Linked DNA regions of Homo sapiens: regions 1, 2 and 4 are each linked to region 3. Evidence: promoter capture Hi-C in 16 types of primary human blood cells and fetal thymus (Javierre and others, 2016). All regions are on one chromosome and are shown on one strand. Each heading gives the region's core, a stretch centred on a gene start or on the middle of the fragment in contact. The rest is flanking DNA. Distances are from core to core; before and after follow the strand shown.

The links. Contacts are between HindIII fragments. The CHiCAGO score rates a contact against its expected background, and 5 or more counts as called.
Region 1: a contact is called between a fragment that was not itself captured here and the fragment with the promoter of VTA1 in region 3, in 1 of 17 cell types (activated CD4 T cells). The highest score is 5.5, in activated CD4 T cells.
Region 2: a contact is called between a fragment that was not itself captured here and the fragment with the promoter of VTA1 in region 3, in 10 of 17 cell types (total B cells, activated CD4 T cells, non-activated CD4 T cells and 7 more). The highest score is 13.8, in total B cells.
Region 4: a fragment that was not itself captured here is called in contact with the fragment with the promoter of VTA1 in region 3 in 9 of 17 cell types (fetal thymus, activated CD4 T cells, non-activated CD4 T cells and 6 more); the score reaches 15.2 in fetal thymus.

The regions. Positions count from the first base shown.
Region 1 is chr6:143,462,760-143,465,793 of GRCh38, reverse strand. PEX3 (peroxisomal biogenesis factor 3) reads right to left here. Exons shown (of 12, transcript NM_003630.3): 3 at 2,797-2,878. Among named protein-coding and RNA genes, the nearest start is that of PEX3, 13 kb to the right of the region's middle. The HindIII fragment of the contact is 4,518 bases long and covers 1-3,034 here.
Region 2 is chr6:143,440,904-143,443,951 of GRCh38, reverse strand. All of the region lies in intron 1 of ADAT2 (adenosine deaminase tRNA specific 2), which reads left to right. Among named protein-coding and RNA genes, the nearest start is that of ADAT2, 8.3 kb to the left of the region's middle. The HindIII fragment of the contact is 1,537 bases long and covers 917-2,453 here.
Region 3 is chr6:142,145,944-142,148,812 of GRCh38, reverse strand. VTA1 (vesicle trafficking 1) reads right to left here and starts at 1,550. Exons shown (of 8, transcript NM_016485.5): 1 at 1,414-1,550. The coding sequence starts at 1,525. It overlaps NMBR (neuromedin B receptor), which reads left to right and starts at 1,691. Exons shown (of 4, transcript NM_002511.4): 1 at 1,691-1,769. RefSeq lists enhancers at 849-1,369, 1,624-1,763, 1,527-1,821. The HindIII fragment of the contact is 1,973 bases long and covers 149-2,121 here.
Region 4 is chr6:143,421,736-143,425,015 of GRCh38, reverse strand. ADAT2 (adenosine deaminase tRNA specific 2) reads left to right here. Exons shown (of 6, transcript NM_182503.3): 6 at 1-2,184. Among named protein-coding and RNA genes, the nearest start is that of ADAT2, 27 kb to the left of the region's middle. The HindIII fragment of the contact is 1,676 bases long and covers 686-2,361 here.

The DNA.
Region 1 (3,034 bases), core at 535-3,034, 1.3 Mb before region 3:
TTCCTAGATGGCACAGGTTCAGAAAATGTGTTGAGTAACTCATGCAAGACACTGCTGCAACCTTAATCTAATCTAGTGTTCAAGACTCACGGCAGAATGTCATATGTATTCGGATTAAACTGGGAATCAACCACAATTCAAAGGTGAGGTATTTAATGTATCCTAAGTGACTCATATCTCTTTTTGAATGCTCCCTCAGAAAAATTTCTAAGTACTTCTTATAAAAATTCTAAAAGAAAAAAGATAAGAAAACAGTGGTTCCGAAAATTTCAATATAGAAAGTGCTTAGTAGTGAGCCATGATTGTGCCACTGTACTCCAGCTTGGGCGACAGAGTAAGACTCTATCTAAAAAAAAACCAAAACCAAACGAACAAAAAACTGTATTTTATTTGGGATGATTTTGGTGGGAGAAGACAGTAATAGTTACCCAGGACATTTCTTCATGTTTACACTTAACATTATTAGACCTTAAAAGTAGATTTTTAAATACTGATGCTATTTTTTTTTAAAAAACTCCAAAATCTACATAAAAGATTCCAAATCTATGTAGAACAGAGAAAAGTACCTTCAACACAAATATTCCTTTCAAATGATTTGTTTGATGGAAATCAACTGCAAGTTAAATACAACCAGACTCTTTAATGTCACTAAAATACCTTCATGGAGAAATAAAAAGTAAAGAGAATTAAACGAATCTTTTCGAAGTGTTCTACTTCTCTTATGATGGAGGATGTTTAAGATTTTTTTGTTTTTGCCATTGAAACTTCATTGCCATTATCAGTCTTCAAGAAGAGTGCCAAATATCAAAAACAGTGATAACTGTTTATTTGCTGTTATGAAGTTGGCAAAATAAGACTATCAAATCATCTACTTATTTCTCATTAGTTATTATCTTAGTTATTATCACAAATAGTTTAAAGAAAAAAAAACTTGCTCAACAGGCTTATATGAGACCAGAGTCTCATATAAAATTAATATAAAAGCAGTCATAAGATTGGAGGCCTTATTTAATGATACTTTGTAAGGGATCAAGCCCTTATTTATGCAAATATTTTTCAAATGGATATTACCCTTCTCCCCCCACCAAATTACAAATAGTAATTTCAAATCAAAAGAAAGCCAAGAAGAAGTAACATTGAGATATTTAAAGAGGAAACTGAATGAGGAGAACTGTGGCCCACCTTAAATTCTCCAGAATTTAAGAAATTCTCCTCCCTGTGTACCGATTAAGAAAAAAAGAATCACATCTTTTCTTTAAAGCTGTCCAGGATAATCTATCAAAATTAATCCTTTGGTTTTTTTGATACTCCTAAATTTTCCTTTTACTTTTTGTCATTGCACTAAATATGTCCGGAATTACGATAATTTATTTAGTCTACTTCCTCCTTTGGATGAAAAGGTCTTAAAGAGACTTGATCTTAACTATTAAATCCCCTAAAGCACATGGAACATAGGGCCTTGCAGGAAACAGATTCACCAAGAAGGAAGAATGCCACCACGATTATTTTATCTGTATTATGTTGCTTGTATAAAAATGCTATTCACTTATTTAACTTGTCTTGCCTTCTCATCATGACAAAAAGGAAATTAAAATCTACTTCTTTTCAATTCCTACCTATGTACACACAAATGGTAATTATTTATTTGATCAAAAGCAATCTGCTTATATGTTTCTTCTTCATAAAACTGTATGAACTAATTTATAAGCTAAACCTTATATCTGTAAGAAGGAAGGAAGGTCTGTCTACCTCTAAGAATGAAGAAATTTAAAATGGAAAACCCCCATCACTAGCATTCTGTTTTAATCAGATAAAAGAAATCTCAAGTACACAAATCCACTGTTATTTTGGGAAGTATTCTCTGAATATAGTAAGTGTTTTTAAAAAAATTCCCCACTTGTTATGTAGCCTGTCTGAGCACTCAATTCCTACTGCAAAATGAATAATAGTAACCGCCTCACAGGGATATTGTGTAAATTAAGTGGGAGCATATATGGAAGGTACCTAGCACCAGGGCTAGCACAGTGAGACAGTTTAGAAATAGAACTACTTTTCCCCTGGCTATTTGAAGGGTGATTAAAGGCAAGTGATTATTTTAGGAAGGCCACAATGATTAACATTTATTTAGTGAAACCATTTCCCTGCCCACCCTCCCATCATTGTCATCAAAATAAGAAGCCATTTCCTGCTGGAAGTCTTCTCAAACTAATACAGTATCATACCAAATTACAATACCCCAACACATGCTACATGCAATATACAAGGTTACATATGTGAAAGTGCTTTTGGAAACAGCAAACTGCCATGGCAATGTAAATTATTAGTATTGCATGCTCATGTTATGTTTGTATTTCATTTTGTTAGTAATTTAAGATATAAGTCCTGTATATCTTATTTATTTAAAACGTATGTTCACATGCTGTATTACACCGTAAGCTCTTTCAGAAAGAAGCACAATATTTAACGTAACTTTGTTAGCTTCACAGCATCTGGTTCAGGAACACATTTCACAAGCACTGCATAATTAAATTTGTGAACAATTTCAAAGTGCTATAAGGTCTATTTATATGAAAAACAATACATACAAATATCATTGCCTTGAATGCTTTATGCAAAAAAGTAGAGCATAGACAAAATTAAATGTAGGTTAAATGATATAGTTAGTATTTTTCTTACTGAGCCTATATAAACTTTCATTAGATAGAAAAATAACAAAGATTTTTGAAAAGTCTATCAGTTCATTCTATAAACTTTAAGTGTAGTGCTTAAACAGAAAATGCTGTAACTTGCATTTACCTGTTTTTTAGCAGAGCTGTGAGGCTCTCGGAATTCAGTTGCTGCATTAAGGCCTCTCTCAGTGTTGGAAGCATGGACAGCACTGTAATACAAACAAAAAAAATAAAAAAGGTCACAAGTGATATGACTGCCCTCACTAAGAAATGCGCATTGTTTTAGGCTATATGATAGGGCTAGCAACTAGCAAGAGTCAGAAGGGAAAGTCAGGGCTAGACGATTCAAATTATTATTATTATTA
Region 2 (3,048 bases), core at 436-2,935, 1.3 Mb before region 3:
GGCCCACATAGCCAATGTAGAGCTCTTCAGGAGATATTTTTACAGAAAATCCTGATCACATGGCCTCCATTTGTTTATTCTCTTGCCGTTTTTGTTTTTTTTTTTAACTTTTTTTTTTTTTAAGACAGAGTTTCACTTTGTCGCCCAGGCTGGAATGCAATGGCACAATCTGGGCTCACTGCAACCTCCGCCTCCTGGGTTCAAGCGATTCTCATGCCTCAGCCTCCCAAGTAGCTAGGATTACAGGCACCCATCACCATGCCCAGCTAATTTTTGTATTTTTAGTAGAGATGGGGTTTCACAATATTGGCCAGGCTGGTCTCAAACTCCTGACCTAAGATGATCCACCTGCCTTGGCCTCCTAAAGTGCTGGGATTACAGGCATGGGCCACTGTGCTCAGCCTATTTTTTACTTTTTTTAGAGATGGGGTCTTGCTGTGTTACCCAGGCTGGAGTGTAGTGGCATGATCATAGCTCACTACAGCCTTGAACTCCTCTTGCCATTTTTTTTATCCTTAAAATTTCCATGTCTCACTCTCTTGCCAACTGTTCTCTCTCATTTGGTCCCTTGATTCACTCTAAACTCAAACCCTGATAAAGCAGCTGATCGGTGAAGTGTCTGTTGTTACTAAAGTAGAAGTTAGAGGCAGAACAGTGGCAGAGAGCCCTGGAATCTGGCCCTTGGTAGGTGCTCCACAAATGTTTGTTGAACAAATGAATAAGTGGAGCCAGGTTGTCTATGCCCTAGTCCCAGCTCTCTCACATGCGCTAGTGAGAGATATATACATGTATAAAAAAAAATCTCCCTGTGCCTCAGTTTCCTCATCTGTAAAATGGGGAAGATCATTATAGGCTTGTAAATGAAATGAATTAATACTTATAAAATGCTTAAATTAGTCCTGGATCAAAGTAAGCTTTCAATAAATTGTAAGCTCTTATGTTCAAGCTCTCAGAACCAGAATACTCGAGATGCAGACAAAACATTACCTCTCTTAAGAGGTTTGTTGGGGAAAGTATAGCTGGAGTTAAAAATTTAACCTCTTAGATAAGTCACTGTTCAAGCTACTGGTTTTCATCTCCACCATTCCACCTAAATTGCCACCACCTTGCTGAATTAGACACACTTGACCACCCTTCCTTCTTGGCCTAGTGTTTTTCTGGGATTGTCCGTAACACCAAATATTTCTCTAAACTCACTAAACATCTCTTTTTAATTCCCATTGCAAAATCCTTTTTGTTTACCTGTACTTATTTTTTAACTTTCATTTTGAAATAATTATAAGTTCACAAGAAATTACAATAATAATATACTGGGAGGACCCAAGTGTCTAGTGTCCTTCAGTGGTAACATCTTGCATAGCTATAGTTCAGTATCAAAACCAGGAAAAATGCATTGGGAAAACTGCAGAGCTTATTAAGATGTCATCAGTTTTATTTGTACGTGTGTGTGTGTGTGTGTGTGTGTGTGTGTGTGTATGCGTGCCTATGCAATTTTGTCATGTTTAGCTTTGTATAACCACCACTGGAACTGTTTCACTACCACATGGCTCCCTTGTGCTACCTCTTTATAGCTGCAGCTTCTAATCTGTTCTCTGTCTATAATTTTATAATTCAAAAATGCTATGTACATGAATCTGTAACCATTTGGCTTGGCTTTCTCCATTCAGCATGATTCCCATGAGATCCATCCAAGTTGTTGAGATTATCGATAGTTCATTCCTTGTTATTGCTGCATTGTGTCCCATGGTACAGGTGTACCATAGTTTGTTTAGCAGTTCACCCACTGAAGGGCATTTGAGTTGTTTCCAGTTTTTGGCTATTACAAATAAAGCTGTTATGAATATTTGTGCACACAGACATACATTGTGTGAGCATAGGTTTTCATTTCTCTGGGATAAATGCCCAAGAGTGGAATTGTTGGGTCATAAGTTAAATGCATGTTTAGCTTTTTAAGAAACTGCCAAACTATTTTCCAGTGTGGCTGTACCATTTTATATTCCGACCAGCAGTATATGAGTAATATCACTTCTCCACAGCCTTGCCAGCATTTGATGTTGTTTTTACGTTTCACTTTAGTCATGCTGATGGGTGTGTAGTGATACCTCATTGTGGTTTTAGTTGACATTTCTCTACCGGCTAATGATGTGAAAACATCTTTTCGTGTACTTATTTGCTATGTGTGTTATCTTCTTTGGTGAAATGTCTGTCTTTTGCCTTCTCATATAGTTTGGATATTTGTCGCCTCCAAATTTCATGTTGAAATTGAATCCCTGGTATTAGTAGCAGGGCCTGGTGGGAAGTTTGGATCATGGGGAGGATACCTCATAAATCATTTTTATAGTGGCAAGTTCTCACTATATTATTATCATGAGAATATACCATCCCCTCCTTTCTTTCTTCTTCTCTTACCATGTGATGCCTGCTCCCATTGCCTTCTGCCATGAGTGGAAGCTTCCTGAGGCCCTCACTGGAAGCAGATGCTGATACCATACTTCTTGTACAGTCTGGAGAACTGTGAGCCAAATCAACTTCTTCTCTTTATAAACTACCCAGCCTCAGGTATTCCTTTATCGCAGCACAAATAGATGAAAACAGTCTTTTTCTAATGGGATTATTATTTTATTGTGGAGTTTTAAGAGTCCTTTATATAGTCTAGATACTAGAGTGTTGCCAGAGATGTGGTTTGTAAGTTTTTTCCTATTTTAGCATGTTTTTCTTCCTCTTTGCTGCATGTATTAGTTTCCTATGGCTGCTGTAACAAATTATCACAAACATGGTGGCTAAAAACAACACAAGTTTATTCTCTTATAGTTCTGGAGGCCAGAAGTCTGAAATTTTAGTGAGCCCCAATCAAAGTTTTGGCAGGGCCGAATAACTTCTGGAAGCCTGCCTTTTCCAGGTACTGAAGTGACATTTATGACCCATCCCTCCATCTTCAAAGCCAGCAGTGCAGCATTTTCAAATCTCTCTCTCTCTCCTTCCGTTATCACTTCGCCTCTTGCCTTCTGTGGGTGCCTTCAGGACCCACCTGAATTTGGGATAATCTCT
Region 3 (2,869 bases), core at 301-2,800:
GTATGCCTTTCACTCTTTTATTTCCCCAAATGTCAATTCAGTGAAGTGTTCCTGACCACTATGAAACTGAAATCCCATCTGCACTCCCTGCCACCACTACTCCTGATACTCTTATTCCTTTTCCTTGCTCTATTTGTCTTCATAAGCTTTTAATACTCTATGTATGATAGACTCTATATTGTTGAAACTCTCTACCTCCATTGTATGTAAGCTCCAAAAATGCAGCAAATGTAGTCACAGCGCCTACTAATGCTTGATACAAAGGTAGCTCAATGAACACATACTGAATGAATATGGACCCTGCTTGAGGAAACTGAAGAACAAGTATAATAAAAATGATGCTGTAAAATTTGAACAAAATGAAGTAATGCACAGAGAATAATCAATTTGCTGCCCACAGAAGTGGTGACATTTGGGTTAGATCTTGAATCATGAGTTTGCCAAGTGCAAGAAAAAGGTGCACATTCCAAGAGAGTGGAAGATGGTAGGTCTGAAAAGGCCTTGCACATTTGAGAAACAGGGTACATTTGGAGTATGGCAGAGATAACAGTGACCAGATTTTAGCTAACCTTACAATATACACAACAATGGACGCATTATATCCAACTTCTCAACTCTAAATATCCTTTTCAGAATTATAATTGTCCAGTTACTTGTTTTATTTGCAGTAAAGTTAAGAGTACAGAATACAAAATAAAGTTAACACAGAATTACTGGCACTCCCTTTACTCACTACAAGTTTGAGCAGAGTTAACCTATATTTTTTTTAATCAAACTGTAAATTCAACGTATAACACTCAAAGTGAAAATACTGCTTTCAAAGGTCTCAACAGCGGGTATTATTCAAAGAAGTCAAAACTAAAAATTCTGCATGGTAGGAGAGAGCAGCTGGGTGGGGAAAGGTCAAATTCAACTGCTTATTTAGTAGCAGATACTCCCCATTTAACCAAATGAGTTTCTGATTGGGCTTGCATGCTGTCATAAATAATATTCACTTATTACTATGTTTTCAACTAGTCTATCGTCCTTTTATCCACATCACTCCTTCTTTCGGACACTCACCTTCGTTTTAAACCTAACTCAATTTATTTTCAGGATTCCTATTTGAGACAAGAAGCTCTTGTGTGTACACACACAGAGAAAACCTTGGAAGATTATATTCCACAGTTCAAGAGCCTGTGTAGTCAGTACTGGAGCATTTAAGCACAAGATAGGAGAAGCAGTGGACACCATGGTGTTTTGGGATTCCTACTGCCAGGGGGTGGGAACCCAGGGAGTTCCCTGGGTAGGCTCGAGGTCAAAGCTCAGGTTTAAAGCGAGGGGGGCGGGGCATGCCCCAAGAACCTCAGGGAGGTGTGTGGGCCCTAAAATGCAACTGGGAAAGAAAGGGCGCGGCCACTCGGAAAGACTCACAGTAATAAGCCACCACAGGGTCTCGCTTGTCATGCTCCTGAGCCGTCCTCAGATGATGCTGTATGCTCTTGAACTGTGCGGGGAGCGGGGGCAGCGGTGCAAGCGCGGCCATCTCTACTCCGAACTCACCACTTCCTACTCGCGCTCCACCGGCACTTCCGCTTCCGTCTGGGCGGTAGCGCGCACGAGCGTTCAGAGCAAATGCTGCCCACTCTTCCGTTGCTCAGCGACGTCAAGTCAACTACGGATCCCCAGCTGGGACAACCTCAGGGTGCTTGGCTCTCGGCGGTTAGAACCCACAGAAGACCCGAGCATTTTGGCGCTTATGCCGCGCATGGCGCTAGCGCTCTCTGCTGGTAGGAGGAAGGGTTTTTGTTTTGTTTTGCTTTTTTGTTTGGTTTGTTGTTTGTGGCAAAAGGAAGGATAGAAAAGGAAAAACAAGAAAATAATGTATGTTGACTGGGAGAAAGTATAAAGGCGAGAATTGCCTTTGGCGTCATTCAGGAATTACCACTTCCAGTTAATATGCCACATTAATATTCCATATAGCAGTGTCCTTTAGAAGCCTTTTTGATTTTAGAAACTTTAATTTCAATACTTGCATGAGAGAGAAATAATGTGTTTAAATTGTAAATTAAATTTTTCTATGTTGACATACTGGATAAAATAATCAGATTTCGCGCCAAATTAAGCTAAACATATGAAGCTTAAAGAAGATTGAACTTTTGTTCTCAGCTGGCTAGTACGTATTTTAGTGAATGAATAATCTGTAGATCACCTTTTTTTTTTCTGGAGAGTGATTAACAATTTGTAAAGTATTTTCATATTTATTATCTTGTCTTAATGTAAGATAGGGTGTTTGGGACGTTTTCAACGCTGGTAACTCTTAACCATTGTACAGTAGGCATCACTTTTCCTTCTACCCTCAATGACTTCAATTCTCTTCCTCTCCTCTCCATCCCTTACTTATATCTTTCAGGACTGTACACTTTATTTACTTCCTCCAATAACCTTCTTTATTTTATCTCAGTCCTCAGTTTTGACAATTCATCTTAAAACTAGTTTTCACTGAAATCACACTATCCCCAAGAGCCAAAATCTCCAGCTCGGAAATTCCCCTCTGCCTACTATTTTCTGATCACTCTCTCACCCCCAGAAGAAACCGCTCCATGTCCTCATATTATCCCACTCCACATACGTTGCCTAGACCTATTTGCAAAGTCCATCATCTTATTCTGGGTCGGGCTTTTTTACTCAGCCTGAAACTCAGTTCTGTCTTCTTCCCCAATCTCAGCGGCATATTTCCTACCACTGGAGAATGTATGGTTTCTTTCTCTTTCTCTTACTCCCACTATTTGGACTTTCCAGTCAAAAGTTGCTAGATTGGTAGAGAAATCAATGAAGAAAAGCAGAGTTGGATAACCATAACTGTTTTCTTTCTATACTCACAACTTTT
Region 4 (3,280 bases), core at 274-2,773, 1.3 Mb before region 3:
GAGGCACACAAAGGCCGTCACACCAAGGTGATGTCAATTTTGGTCATCTGGTCAAGGTGTTGTCCTATTCCTTCACTATATAGTTACCTTTTTTCTCTGTTGCAATGAATAAGCAGTCTGTGGGAAGAGGAGCTGTTACATTTTAAACAGAAAATGTATTTGACACTGATGGAAAGGAGAGGAGGAAAATTAATGACATAAATTTCAAAGCAACTATTAAATTATTTGATTGCATTCTTCCTCTTTTACTGTCTGCCAAAATTGATAAAAAAAATTTTTCTAATAAGAATGTTTTAAATAGTGATATCTTAATAAGCATCAAAATTAAGCCTGAGAAATAAATTCTTTCCTTCCTAATTTCCTCCTCAGCAAAAGTAATAATTATATAAATTTCATTATGCCTGATAAGATAGGGTTTTGGAAAATAGACCTAAGATGTTTCTGATACTGCAGATGACCTATGGTGATCCAATGGGATAAACACTCTAGGTAGGTTGTCATTTGGTCATAAAATATGAGTTATCTTGGGTTTCCATAGAGACATCTAGACTTAAAATGTTGTAAGCACTGCTACTTTCAAAATGTCAGTAAAAATAGCAAAAGCCAAAGCTCTTGAAAAAATTACTTAAATCTTTTTTAAAAGTAGTATAGCGCCTTGTTAAAAATCTGTGGTGATGCCAAAGCTTGTCTTTCCCAGTGGTCCTACGTGAACTGGCCTTATAGCCCCAGGGAAACCAGACACCAGGAATTGGTTTCTCTGCCTTTTGGCAAAGGAATAAGACTACATTGACTTCATCTATGAAGACAACTGCCAACTATTTCCTTTGTAAATTGCTAATTTTGTGTAGTGAGGAAAGGAGCGATGGGCGACGTGATTTTTATGGATTAGACTGGTGAGTTCTGCTGAAAGTTTGACATCTTTAGGATCTTACATTTTCTTCAAGTTGAGCTAATGAAAACAGGCTCGTGACTATTTATCACCTGATTTCTAAGTGGATATTGGGTTGAACACCACATATCCATGACTATTAAGGAGGCTTCATGGTGTAGTTTGACAAAGGCTCTCTCCTTGACCAAACTTCAGTCAGGCCCTAAGTCCTCTTTTTAACCAGGCCTCCACCTTGGCCCCCATTCTTGATGGGCCTATACAGCCCAGCTTTAGCAAGAATCCTGCTAAGCTAGTTTAGAGAGAATCCCACATCCCCAATATCTATGAAATTTCTCATCCCCTACTTTTGATGTGTAAGTCCTTGGCCTCCCTTCAACGAGAAGCCTGTTAAGTTCATTTTGCAAGAACTCTACTCTTGATATCTCCTCTTAGTAATTTCCTAATCACTGACCCCCTCACTCTGCCCATTAGTTATAAACCCCCACATGTTCTGGTTGTATTCAGAGCTGAGCCTGATCTCTTCCTCTTGTTGGGATAGTTTTAAAACCTGCGATAGTTTTAAAACCTATCACTGTAGTCCTGAATTAAGTCTTCCTTACCTTAACAAGTGTCAAAATAAATTTTTCTTTAACATGTTGAAGCATGAACTTGAGAATCTAGAGCAGGAGTCCACAAAGTATGGCCCATGGGCCATATCCAGCCCGCTGCCGGTTTCGGTACCACTCATGACTTAAAAATGGGTCTTACAATTCTGAGTGATTGAAAAAAAATCAAAAGAAGGATAATATTTAGTGACCCATGAACCTTATATGGCAATCAAATTTCAGTGTCCATAAATAAAGTTACATTGGATGACAGCCATGCCCATTTGTTTCTGTGTTGTCTGTGGCTGCTCGTGTGCTACAATGGCAGAGTTGAGCAGTGGTGACAAACCATGCGACTCACAAAGGCCTAAAATATTTAGCGTCTGGCCCTTCGAGAAAATGTTAGCTGCCCCTGGTCTAGAGTAGGTAAAAGGCTGAGATTGGAAGCTGCTTGTTCAAATTCTGTGATTGGAACCGAATGATGTGGCTCATTGTACAGCTCATGGTGAATTGCTTCAGTACCATGGTTTTGTTTTTTCCTTTTGAAAAGTTGGTCTATAAATGTAAAGGAAAAATCTAAGATACCAAAATATGTTTTCTGGCTTAGAATGTTTTATTTCCTTGTATACATTTTAAGAGAGTGGCAAGGAGAAAAGATAATGTATCATTTTATTTGGGTTTAGAATAAATAATACATTTTATTTATGATCATCATGTTTAAAATATTATTTTCTGTTACTGTCTCTGTTTTACATCAAGTAAGCTGAGGCACAGGGAGATTATGTAACTTGCCCAAGGTCACAGAGTGCTAAGTGATCACATCACTCAGAAGGAGCTAGTTAAACCAATGTAACAGCCTTCAAGTTTTAGTGGCTTAGAACCAAAGCTTATTTTTCTCATGCCTTGCTTCTTGTCCATCTCAGGTCAGGCCAGGAGCCTAGGCTAAAGGAAACTTCACCACCGGGGACATCAGCTGCTGTGGCCAGAGAAGAGAACATGGTGAATAATGCTTCATACCTTAGGGCAGGGCTTCTCAAACTTAAACGTGCATAGGCATCTCCTGGGGAGCTTATTAAATTCACATTCTGATTCAGGAGGTCCTGGAGGGCCTGAGATGCCATGTTTCTATCAACCTTCTAGGTGATGCCCATAGTGCTGGACCATGGGCCACACTTTGAGTAAGGAGGGCTTCCTGGCTTTTGCCCAGAAGTGACACATCACTTTTGCTCTCAAAAGAATTAAAGCAAGTCACATGGCCATGCCCAACTTCAAGGCAGCAGATAATATAATCCATTAACTACATCAGGGAGAAGAGAATTGGAATTTTTGTGAACAGCTCCAATGAAGAGCAAACAATGTGAAGCTAGGATCTGAATTCAGGCAGGCTGGCCCCAGAGTCTGTGCTCTTAATTATAACTATATACAGTCATGGGTGTTGGTCCATTCTCTATAAAGAGAATGCCTGCCAGGCAGACAGCTAGTCAGGGAGTTACAGTTGACTTGTGTGACTTGACACCGGGTGACTTAGGCAGCTTTAGAGTTCAGTGCAGCAGTTCTCAGCATGGTGCTGCAACTCTGAAGTGTTTCAATTCATTTTTTTATCTTAAAGTGCCAACATTTATGAATTATTGTTAAATTAAAAACATAGCTGGGAGCGGTGGCTCACACCTGTAATCCCAGCACTTTGGGAGGCCGAGGCAGGTGGATTGCTTGAGCTCCTGAGTTCGAGACCAACCAAAGCAACATGGTGAGGACCTTGTCTTTACAAAAAATACAAAAAATTAACCAGGGTGGTAGAGCGCTCCTG